Regions from separate parts of the Homo sapiens genome. Here regions 1 and 3 are each linked to region 2. Evidence: promoter capture Hi-C in human tissues and cell types (Jung and others, 2019). All regions are on one chromosome and are shown on one strand. Each heading gives the region's core, a stretch centred on a gene start or on the middle of the fragment in contact. The rest is flanking DNA. Distances are from core to core; before and after follow the strand shown.

Region 1 (4,069 bases), core at 1,159-3,658, 450 kb before region 2:
TTTTGTTTTTTTTTTTTTTTGAGATGGAGTTTCACTTTGTCACCCAGGCTGGAGGGCAGTGGCACGATCTTGGCTCACTGCAACCTCCACCCTCCGGGTTCAAATGATTCTCCTTCCTCAGCCTCCTGAGTAGCTGGGACTACAGGTGCCTGCCACCGCGCCCAGCTAATTTTTTGTATTTTTAGTAGAGATGGGGTTTCACCAACTTGGCCAGGCTGGTCTTGAACTCCTGACCTTAGGAGATCCGCCTGCCTCAGCCTCCCAAAGTGCTGGGATTACAGGCGTGAGCCAACGCGCCCGGCTACGCTGCCCTCTGTTGAGTCGGCCTCACATACACTCTTCAGTGTCCCTATGCACCTGCCTGCCATGCCCTTACCTGCAGAAGGCCCCTATGTTCTCCACCAGGTAGCACTGGCCGCCATTGTGACAGTAACTTGGGAAGAGGTCGCACACTGACCGGCAGGAGCCGTTATGCCGCACAAAGCCACTGCGGCACTCAGTGCCATTTTCACTGGAGGCCAAGTCCCTGCCTGGCTCTCCTGGGCGGGGCCTGAGGGCGATGCTGCTGCCGGGGACCGACCCCAGAGTGTGCTGTGGAGGGACAGCATGCCACCGACTGGTGGGCTGGCCTGTCCCGGGCCCCAGACCAGGCTTCCCAGTGGGCACTAGAAGCTCATTTTCATCTTCTAGGTCTCCACCTCCTACTGCATCTTTGTCATCCTCCTCTTCCTCCTCCTCTTCATCCAAGTCATCATAAAAGGATGTGGTGGGGTAGAAATCAGATTCATCGAAGGGGGTGAAATCATCGTATAAGTCAAGCAGGCTCCAGGAAGGGGTCTCTCCCTCAGTATCAGGGTGGTTCTCTGAGGTTCCTGGTGACCCTGGGAAGCTCCCCAGATCTGCGCCACGACCCTCACCATCCAGTCCTTCGAAGTAGTCGATGTCAATGATATCTGATGCCGGTTGGGGCTCCAGGGTGCCCTGAAATGGGTAAGTCAGCTCTGGCCCTTGAGGGTCGGGTGTGCTGCCCCCCAGGTTCAGCCAAACCTCCAAGGGGCTCTCCTTGGGGAGTTCAGAAGCTGGGCTCAGCTTGTCGCCGGGGGTGGGGGAGGGTGGCCCGCTGGCCTCTGTAGCCTCAGGAATGGCAGGGGGCATGATTGACTGCCCGAGGACCTCGTGGGGAGCCTGGAGCGTAGCTGGAAGGGCCTGGGCATCGCCGCTGCCCGCCTCTGCGGTCACTCCTCCCAGGCCTGGGCTGTCAGCTTCCAGCCAGGCGGTGCCGGTCACCGCAGCCGACTCCTGCAGCACCTCTTCTGGCCCGGCCAGCTCGCCACCGGGCGCCGTCCACGACGCCTCATCTTCCCCAGCCGCTGGTGGGCCGGCTTCTTCCCGCGTGTCGTTGGCAGGCGGCTCCCACGCCGGGCTGCCCTTCACCAGCTCTTCGGCCTCAACCGCGCTGCCCGCCTCACGCGCTGCGGGCGGGAGGGCAAGGGGCGGGACGTCAGGGCGGCGCGCTGAGGAGCCCTGGAGCCCCGGCCCGCCCCGGTCAGGCCCGCTCGCCTAGACCTGGTCAACCCAGACCTCGCCACCCTCAGACCCCACCGCCCCAGTGTGACCCCAGCCACCCGGTACCTCTAAGCCCCGTCCCGGAGTCTGCCCCCAAGACGAGGATCACACCCCGCCCAACGCCTCGCGGCTCGGCCCCGCCCGACCTGCCCCGCCGTCTGAAGAGCCAGGCCAGGGCGGCCCCCAGCTCGGCCCACCCATAAGTCTCACCCTCGGGAACCCACCCTGAGCCGCGTCCACTGGCTCCCGCCCTCAGCTCCAGGTCCCGCCCCGAAGTCTCACCCTCAGGCCCCGCCCCGGCCCCGCCCCGGCCCCGCCCCCGGCCCCGCCCCCAGTCCGCACCGCGGCCCGCGCGCTTGGGTCCCGGCTACCCCAACCGGGGTCGGCCCCCACGCGGGTCGGCCTTTCCCGGACCCCCACCACCTCCTGGGACCATTCCGCCGCCCGGCCGCGGCCAGGCGGTGCCCCGCCCCCTTGCCACAGCTCACAGCTCCACCTGTCCCCGCCGCCAGCGGGACCCCTGCCCTGGGTGGGGCACGAGGGCCGCGGGGGTCCCGGGCGCAGTCATACCTACCCGGCACGGCCCCAGAGGCCAGGACCAGCGCGGCCCCCAGAAACAGCAGCAGTGGCGGCGGCCCCCGGCCCGGGCCCCCGCCCCCGGCTCGCCCCATGGCGCGGCGCCCCGACCGCTGTCCGCGGTCCGCCCGGCTGGCTGCGCCCTCGGCTCGCCCGGCCGCCGCGCCTCCCGCCGGTTCTGCGGCCGCCTCAGCCCACGATGGGCAGCGCGAGGAGCCGCATGCCGCCGCCGCCGCCGTCCGCCGCTGTCCCCGGCGCGCCGCGCCTCCCCGCCTCCCGCGCCGCCGCTGCCGCCGCTGCGCTCAGCGCCGCCCTCACCCCGCCCGCCGCGCCGGCCCCGCCGCACGTAGCGGTGACGCCGGCCCCTTGGTCAGCCTGCCAGGGGAACAGACAGACCCCTCGCTGGGGACTAGGAGACACACGGACGGGGAGTGCGGGGCAGGCGGACGGGGAGCGCGAGGCAGGCGCACGGCGCGGCGCGCGGCGTTAGGCGGCAGGTGCACGGGCGGGAGACCTGTGGGATGGGGCCACGGTCCCGCCCCAGGTGAACAGGCGGCACGGGGCCCCGACCCGGAGGAACCCACCCGCCACGCGGCAAGCACGGAGGCGGGGACGTCGCGGGCCCAGTTACCCGCAGGGTCGGGGCGGGGTCCAGAAGAGCCGCAGGGGGCGGAAGCACGAGCCCCCACTGTGGAAACAAGCCAGGCCCGGGGCGCATGGAGCCTCTCGGATTCTGCACCAATCCCGTGTTCCGGGCGGGAAGGCTCTCAGGGAGGTCTCCGGGTCTCCACGAGGGAGGGGCGGGCGTTGGCAGAGCCTGGCAAGGGGGCGAAGCCGACCGCCCAGGCTCTAATCGGATCAGATCTAATCCGTTCGCAGCCAAAGCCACTAGCCTAGATCTCGCACAGCCAGGCCCGCCATAACGCATCCCGGGAGCAAGGGGTAAGACCCTCCCTGGGACTGCGGCTACCTCGCCTTCCTTCTAGTCTCCGGGCAGCCTGGGGAGCGGCCTTTAATCCTGGTCCCTTCTCCGGGATACGTCGTCCCCCAGGTGTCTCAGACCACCAAAACTCAGGTTCCTGGGTAGACCAGGGGGGTCTAGATCCCCAGCCGGGCACACATGGATGCTTGGCTTTAGAGTGATCTGTGGGGCCCATTCACAGCTTCAGGGCTCACAGGGCAACCCAAGACCACGCACCAGGAGGTCTGCTTAGTCGGCAGGAGGAACCGCAACCTAGTTACTTAGTTTATTCCCCCAAACCGACCGTCTACCCCTTAATGTGTTACTCACCCAAATGACAGTTCAGGGTATCAGCCCAAGGAGATAGGACAACTCCAGTATTTAAGAGACGGTCCCATTGCTGTCTTAGAAGACCAAATAAGTGACCAAGATGGAGATTCTATCTCCTAATCTTTCTGATACATATCTCCAGATGGAGTTGCCTTGGTTCAAAACCTGTTTCTCAGCAGAACTATGGCTGCAGCCTATTTGCCTAGCCTAGCGTCTCCACCTCTCCTGCCTGGTAAACTCCTCATGCCAGAAAAACTCAGTTCTTATCACCTTTCCCTCTATGAAGGCTTCTCAGCAGTTACACTTAATGCCCATCATCTCATCTTATCTACAGTTATTCCTCACTGGACTGCAAGGCACTTGAGTGCACAGGGCTGGTAACAGAGGGAGGCTCCATATCAGACAGGCATAAATGAACGAATGGCAACCACCCACACCCATCCCAGAACTGTGGTCTGGAGAGCCTTGAAAAAAGGGGTAAGGCTCTTTCTTTCATAGTTTCATGCTGCCTCCGGGGACCAAGTAAAATATGTTTGAAACAATAGCCTTCTCTAAACAGGGGACCATGTAGGGCTTTGCACTCACCTCAGCCACAGAGGCAGCAACGCACCCTTAACTGCCTCCAACCCATCTCTG
Region 2 (4,314 bases), core at 1,089-3,588:
GAGGCAGAGGTTGCAGTGAGCCGAGATCCCTACTGCACAGAGCAACTGAGCAAGATTCCATCTCAAAAAAAAAAATATATATATATAATATATGTATTATATATTCATATGTAATATTATGTATTATATATTACATATTCACATGTAATATATATTATATATTTTATATATATGGCATTTCTGGCCAGGTGTGGTGGCTCACGTCTGTAATCCCACCACTTTGAAAGGCTGAGGTGGGAGGATCATCTAAGGCTAAGAATTTGATTTCAGTCTTGGCAACACAGTGAGACCCTGTCTCAATTAGAAAATAAAAAAAAATTTAAACACAGCATTTCCAGTCCTTTCAAACTCAGATGAAGTTTAATTAAAATCTTCAGGGGACACCCCAGTAAAGCAACAGCATACCTCACACCCAGATGCTGGTTTCTAATACCATTCTCTGATAAAGAAACCAAGACTCTTTGGAGAAATGACTAATTCTAGGACTGAGAACAAAATATTCAAGATGAGCCTGAAGTACCTTGTATTTCCAGAAAGTTAGGAAGTGCTAAAAATAAAAATAAAAAAAAAAAAACAACGATAGGGGTAAGTTGGCCGGACGAGGTGGCTCAGGCCTGTAATGCCAGCACTTTGGGAGGCCAAGGCAGGCAGATCACCTGAAGTCAGGAGTTCAAGACCAGCCTGACCAACATGATTAAAACCCGTCTCTATAAAAAACCCAAATATTAACCAGGCATGATGGTGGGTGCCTGTAATCCCAGCTACTCGGGAGGCTGAGACAGGAGAATTGCTTGAACCCAGGAAGTGTAGGTAGCACTGAGCCGAGATTGTACCACTGCACTCCAGCCTGGGCGACAGAGTAAGACTCCATCTCAAAAAAAAAAAAAAAAAAAAAAAAAAGATAGGGGTAACTCAATTACACAGGAGTCAACTAAAAAAGTTCCCAATGACCAAAGCTGGAACAATATAAACAATAGACTGAATAAATAAATGAGAGAGAATAAGCAAGTCTTCAGTGAAGAATTCCAAACAAGATACTCCACTTCCAAGAGGTAGAACATAACCCTTCATCCTTTACATGTGCATAGCACATAGTGACCTCCTTCTAAAGAGTACAATATGAAAATGGGAGGGGGGGGTAAGAGAAATATGACAAATACTACCTAAGCCAAGTGATCAAGACTAATATCAATAGTGATAAATCAGCTGGGTGCAATGGCTTACATCTGTAATCCCAGCACTTTGGCAGGCCAAGGCAGGAGGTTCACTTGAGGCCAGGAGTTCTGACACCAACTTAGGCAAGCAACATGGCGAAACCCCATCTCTATGAAAAATACAAAAATTAGGCTGGGTGCGGTGGCTCACACCTGTAATCCCAGCACTTTGGGAAGCCAAAGTAGGGGGATCTCAAGGTCAGGAGATTGAGATCATCCTGGCTAACATGGTGAAACCCTGTCTCTACTAAAAATACAAAAAGTTAGCTGGGTGTGGTGGCACATGCCTGTAGTCCCACCTACTTGGGAGGCCGAGGCAGGAGAATCACTTGAACCCAGGAGACGGAAGTTACAGTGAGCCAAGGTCGCGCCACTGCACTCCAGCCTGGGCGACAGAGCAAGACTCCATCTCAAAAAAAAACAAAAAAACAAAAAAATTAGCCAGGCATGGTGGTACGTGCCTGTAGTCCCAACTACCCGGGAGGCTGAGGTGGGAGGATCACTTGGGCCCTGGAGGCCAGGGTTGCGGTAAGCCACGATCGTGCCACTGCAACCCAGCCTGGGCAACAGAGCAAGACTCTTTCTCAAAAAAAAATTAGCTGGGCTTGGTGGCATGTGCCTATGGTCCCAGCTATTTGGGAAGCTGAGTTGAGAGGAAGCTTGAGTCGAGTCCAGGAGGTTCCAGTGAACTGTGATCACAGCACTGTACTCCAGCTTGAGTGATAAAGCAAAACACACACATACACACACACATACACACACACACACACACAGACATAAATCATGCTGACATGATTTGATAGTATGCACCCTTGATATAATGTGATAAGAGTGGCACTTTACCTCTGTGATCTTCCTTCTAAAAAGCATAACCTCTGTCTAATCATGAGAAAAAGATCAGACAACTCCCAACTGAAGGACACTCTACAAAATATCAGACCAGTACTCCTCAAAACTGTCAAAGTCATCAAAAACAAGGGAGGTGTAAGAAACTGTCATAGCCAAGAGAAAGCTAAGTATGATAACTAAACATAATGTGGTATCCTAGATGAGATCCTAGAACAGAAAAAGGTATTTAGGTAAAAATTAAGGAAATCTAAATAAACTATGAACTTTAGTTAATAATAATGTATGAAAATTGAGGTCAGGAGTTCGCGAGCGGCCTGGCCAACATGGTGAAACTGCATTTCTACTAAAAAAAAATAATAAAAAAATTAGATGGGCATGGTGGTGTGCGCCTGTAATCCCAGCTACTAGGGAGACTCAGGCAGGAGAATTACTTGAATCTCGGAGGCGGAGGTTGCAGTTAGCCCAAGATCGCACCACTACACTCCAGCCTGGGCAAGAGAGCAAGACTCCGTCTCAAAAAAAAAAAAATTAGCCAGGTGTGGTGGCAGGCACCTGTAATCCCAGCTACTCAGGAGGCTGAGGCAGGAGAATCGCTTGAACCCAGGAGACAGAGGTTGCAGTGAGCTGAGATTGTGGCACTGCACTCCAGCCTGGGTGACAGAGAAAGACTCCTTCTCAAAAACAAACAAAAACAAAAAATTCTAGTAATAACCATTATTTACTTCCAACTTAAATCTGATCCACGACCTAAAACTGCACTCTGAAATAATCTACAATTCCCCTGAGAAACTTAATAAATATAGACAAAAGTGTGTATATCAATTAACTTACAAGTCTCTAATCACTGCAAACTAGCTGACTCTCGTTAAAGCTTCAAATCTTAAAGTTCTACCACTGGTACTCTTAGAAGCTAACTTACCCTTGTTGATCACAGAGAGACAACAGTGACCAAGTCTAATAAAAGCTTATTCATGTACACAGAAACAAAACAAAGTAACTTGGTGATGTGCACATCTAATATTTCCAACCAAATCACAAAACTTTAGAAAGGGCATTTGAATCCAACCTCCTTATTTTAAAAGTGAGAAAAGTCCAAGGAGATTAACAAATATATTTGTTCAAAGTCATCCCTGAGTTCTCAACTAAAAGTAGAATTTCTTTTCTGTCCTATATCCCAAATCAGGAAGCAAGGGGAAAAGGTAGGAGGTATTATCATTCTGATCATCATTTCCTCTGCTAACTTAGAATGCTTTCGTTTCTCAGGGATAAAGAAGGTAAGTCCAGCTATATCTATGTATTGGAAATAGCATCACATAGCTCTCCTTTTTAAAATGGCATGCCCTCCTCATGTGGATTTTTATCTTCTATTTAACTATCAGTTATCGCACTATGCTTCTACAGTTAGTATCTATGATGTGAAAGTTGAAGCCCTGGTTAAAGCTTCTTAAATCTACCATTTTATTTTGTACAAACAGAAAAGTATATTAGTTTTCTTTCCAGCTGTCCTTAATTTTTTTAATTGAAGTGAAGTTTACATAACATACAATTAACCATTTTAAAGTACATTATGATTTCTCTCCAGTTTCAAACTGTCCTTAAGAATTTTTTTATTTTTATTTTTAATTTTTTTGAAACGGGAGTCTCGCTCTGTCACCCAGGCTTGAGTGCAGTGGTAGGATCTCAGCTCACTGCAACCTCCGCCTCCGAGGTTCAAGTGATTCTCCTGCCTCAGCCTCCAGAGTAGCTGGGATTATAGGTGCACGCCACCACAGCCAGCTAGTTTTTGTATTTTTAGTAAAGACGGATTTTTTCACTATGTTGGCCAGGCTGGTTTCGAACTCCTGATCCTAGGTGATCTGCCCGCCTCAACCTCCCAAAGTGCTGGGATTACAGGTGTAAGCCACCGTGTCCAGCCAAGAATTTTTAATTAAAGATGCACTAATCCAAATGTAGATGAGCTACTCAATTTTCAGTTAATTAATCACATCTGAAGATAATGATGGCCTATGCCCTCATATCAAGTGTATCCTGAGCCCTTTTATCATTCTAATCTCTTTCTACACGTGGCCAACCAGAGTGCATACATATTGTGCCAAGTACCTTTCACCTTTTTCTACATATCAGTAGTATTCTATTTCACAGAAAACTCACACTCCTGCCCTAAACATAACCACAGAGTTAGGCTTATTGTGTGGTTAGCCTATCTGGCATGCCTTTGTCTCACAAATGCTTAGAGGACATTTCACACTAC
Region 3 (3,838 bases), core at 26-2,525, 300 kb after region 2:
TCAATAGATCCAGATGACAGAGAGGTATGCTTCCTCAATGCCTCCCTTAGTCTCTCCAGAAAGGCAGTAGGATTTTCTTCCTTTCCCTGTGTTATAGTGGGCATCATTGAATAATTCATAGGCTTCTTCCTAGTTTTTCTTAGTCCTTCTAGCATGCAAGTTAGCAAATGTCTGCGGCACCAATCTCCACATTCTGATTCTGCGTCCCATTGAGGGTCTACACTGGGAACTGCCTGCTGGCCTGTGGGGAATCGTTCTCTTTCCTCTGTTGTCATCCTATCATTGACCTGACTGAGATACCAGAGATTGCCAAACTCTTGGGCTGCAGTTATAGCGGCACTTCTCTCATTTGGGGTTAGTATCTGATCTAGCAGTAACATTATGTCTCTCCATGTCAGATCAAAGGATTGTCCTAACCCTTGTAAAACATCAATATAGCCATCAGGGTTATTTGAGAATTTACCTAGGTCTATTTTAATTTGCTTCAAGTCTGAGAGGGAAAAAGGTACACACACTCTGGGCTGAATTCTCCTCCTCCCACCACTTCAAGGGGGCATAATCTGGGAATATTGGCACTCTTTGGTTCATTGTTTACCCCTTTCTCTATCTCCTTTGGCACCGTTTGTGTTGAAGGGGGGTCATTATTAGTTGGGGAAGGAGCCGGGGGAACGCCGGGGCAGGGGGGTAGATTCTGAGGGCTTCCTGTAGGGCATAAATCACACTTTTAACATAATTGTGAGTTGTCTCTTAATGAAAAGAAAGTTTGCACATATGGCACTTCGCTCCATTTGCCCTATTTTCTACAAAAGAAGTCTAGCTGTAAGATGGTGTTATAATTTATACTTCCCTTGGAGGGCATGTTTCTCCCTCTTGAAGAGGATATTGTGGCCAGGGGTACTGCAGAAGAATATAAGTCGTTTCTTTCTTAGCATCTGAGGGTCAAATTGGTCCTAATTCTCTAGAATACATCTTAGGGGCGTTTTTGCCTGGGAGGGGGGAACGTTTAAAAAGAACATAGGGATGCCAGCACCCCTAGTCATTTTCTGATGAGCATTAGTCCTAGAGCGTCCTCTGTGGTCCTAATGCTTATTCCTTTTCAGGGTGCGTAACCACCCACGGACCTCTGCTTATCAGATTAGTTACACTCACCGATGTAGCAGTCCTGCACCTGTTTTCCTGCCCTTCTTGACCACAAAGAAAGGGGTCTGGGCTGCTGGATTCTAGTGGTCCTTTACCAGCGTGCCTGACATTGCCTTTGCACTCAGGAGTGAGTTCTAGAGCTGGGCTGGGTTTCTGAGTATTTCATAACAACCCAGTTGCCCCATCAAGATGCATTTTCATAAACAACAGTTCTTATGCAAATTCGTTTCAGAGAGGGTGTAGGTAACCTTTTGAGTCAGGATTGAGATAGAGTTTTTGCCCACTAGGGCCTTTGTCCTTTTCCTTTGTAGGAATATGCCTTAATTATCGAACTTAAGATTTTGTTGCCCTGGATTAAGTCCTTTTGGGTACGAAATATGAGAGATGGCTCCTGTTTATCCTATGTGCCTTTTTCCTACGAGAAGGAGAGCGAGGAGAAAAAGATGGGCTTGCTCTTTTTGTAAGTACTTTAAGGCTTGGCTGAGTGCAAACAGCTCGCAGTTTGTGCAGACCAATTATGAGGCAATTCTCCTAACTCTGCTTCCACAAGAGTTTCCTTATCAATTACTGAATACCCATTGTGGTTTTTTCCTCAATCGCCTGGGAGGAACCATCTATCGTCCTATCCTAAAGGAAGTTCCTCCTAGGTCTGGTTGGACCTTTGCATGGCAATTAAGATTTAAATCCCCTGTTAGGAAATCTGCTGGGTTAAGGGAATTATCAGTGGTTGGTGTTAAATCACCTTTTTCTAACAGAATAGCCCCATACTTTAAGAATTTTGAGCTAGTAAGCTACCTTTTTTTTTTTTTTTTTTTGGTCTTAGGATTGTTCTGAACTGGTGAGGTGTGCTCACAATGAGGTTTCCTCTAAAGGTTATTTTTCTACTTTATTCTGTTAGCAAAGCAGTTGCCACTACAGATTGAATGCATTTGGGCCATCCACGGGTTACTGGGTTCAGGATTTTTGATAGGAAGGCTATGGGTTGTCAGTGGTCTCAGTGTTTTCGGGCTACGCCCTTGTTTACACTGACAACAAGGTAGTATTGGAGTATTATAGGGTCGTGGAGAAGACCTTTAATTATCAATTATAGGTTCTAAATTTACCTTGGCTTTTAAAGGAATAGGGTACACTGTTTTTTCTTTACTACCTCTCTCTTTCCCTTTTTTCTTTCTTTCTCTCTTTGACTTTCTGCCTCTTCCTCTCTCTGTCTGTCTTTTTTTAGATGGATTTTGGAAACGCAGTGGAAGGACGTTCACTTGTTGCCCCAGTTTGCCACTATAGGAACATGTGCCTCCCTTTAATTTACTCAAATTCGTTTTCATCCTGATCTATTATGTTGTTGTAGACTCAGTTCCAGTTGTTAAAATACTGGGTTATCAGTTCTAAGGGCCTGGCCAAGGAGCCAAGGCTTGGAGATTGTATTGCAGGGGGTAGTAAACTGGGTAGAAATTAGGGGAGGAGAGCATCTTACACAATGGGAGAGCGATCTTCCTAGCTATTTACAAACTTGGGGCCCTGGCAAGGGTGGTGGGGAATGGGTCCCACATAACAGCCCATGTTGACAGCTATATACCTAAATTGGGAGGGACACCAGGGGCAAGACTCCCTGGGTTCATAGCCTAGATATCTAAGGCCACAGCATAGAGCTTCCTTAGATCTCTTTGGAGATACAACTTGCTCTAATACTTGGGAGAGGAAATGAAAGTCTGAAGCATTAGTACCTAGGAGGCAGGGATTGGAGGAAGTAGATTCAGAGGTAAGGAGAATTTTTGGGGCTACACTTTCAAGAAAGTCATGGTCGGGACCCAGGAGGTATGGGTCAGAAGGAAAGGTAGGGGTGCACACGTGGGCAACTGTTGAGTAGAGACTTCTGGCTGCACCATGATCTCAACCAGCCAATGCCGGGAGTTCAGGACGACAGCTTTCTGCCTCTAGTCGGCCCTCGGCTTCCCCCCAGGAAATTGTGAAAGCGGAAGCTGGTTCCAGGCAGACCAACGCTCCTAACCCCAAAGGGTTGGGGGTTGTTAGAAAGCCTTTTCCCAGAAAGCCTCACAGCTGAGTCTTAAGTCCAGTGGCCATGCTAATCATTTTTAACTGGCTGACAGGTGCCCGGTATTTCCTCTGATTCTAAGGAAGGATAGGACAGGATAGCAAGCTAAAGTGGTTCAATATTACTCACCACTTTGGAGAATACCTGTACGGGCCAACAGCTGTTACCAGGCAGGTCTTTGTTCTTAGAGCTCCTGAGATGGTGGCAGGCCGCTCCCAAGATGGCGGCAAGCCTTTTGTTCTCTGACCTGGGGTTCTTGGCCTCACGGATTCCAAGGAATGGAAACTTGGGACATGCAGTGAGTGTTATAGCTCTATTAGAAGCCGTCGGTCACGGAAGAGAACCCTGGAACCCAGCGACTAGTGTTTAGCTCGATTAGGATGAACCCAGGCACTTAGCCATGCAGGGACAATGGCGAGCCTCTAGCCTGATTGGGAGTGGCAATGGGCACCTCGCTGGATCAGAAGCATAGCAGCCACCCTGCCCAATCCGGAGGTGTGGAAGCCAATGGTGGGTCAGCGACGTTGGCTTTCAGCAGTGGTGGAGAGTGAGTGAAAGCTCAGCTCGAGCCGGAACAAACATGGAACAGAAGAGTGTGCAGTTGCAAGATTTAATAGAGTGAAAACAGAGCTCCCATACAAAGGAGGG

What was found. The method cuts DNA at HindIII sites, captures the fragments that hold promoters and counts their contacts. A contact is called where the count stands out against the background at its distance.
Region 1: a contact is called between the fragment with the promoter of CSPG5 here and a fragment that was not itself captured in region 2, in 2 of the 25 tissues and cell types used here (lymphoblastoid cells and pancreas).
Region 3: a contact is called between the fragment with the promoter of SPINK8 here and a fragment that was not itself captured in region 2, in 1 of the 25 tissues and cell types used here (stomach).

What each region holds. Positions count from the first base shown.
Region 1 is chr3:47,576,457-47,580,525 of GRCh38, forward strand. CSPG5 (chondroitin sulfate proteoglycan 5) reads right to left here and starts at 2,409. Exons shown (of 5, transcript NM_006574.4): 1 at 2,141-2,409; 2 at 377-1,472. The coding sequence starts at 2,237. RefSeq lists silencers at 1-17, 1,620-1,709, 1,760-1,819, 1,860-1,909 and an enhancer at 3,034-3,738. The HindIII fragment of the contact is 21,614 bases long and covers 1-4,069 here.
Region 2 is chr3:48,029,925-48,034,238 of GRCh38, forward strand. It overlaps a transcript of MAP4 not described here. Among named protein-coding and RNA genes, the nearest start is that of MAP4, 16 kb to the left of the region's middle. The HindIII fragment of the contact is 3,193 bases long and covers 743-3,935 here.
Region 3 is chr3:48,332,386-48,336,223 of GRCh38, forward strand. SPINK8 (serine peptidase inhibitor Kazal type 8 (putative)) reads right to left here and starts at 1,276. Exons shown (of 8, transcript NM_001080525.3): 1 at 1,150-1,276; 2 at 1-86. RefSeq lists a silencer at 1,621-1,821. The HindIII fragment of the contact is 10,965 bases long and covers 1-3,613 here.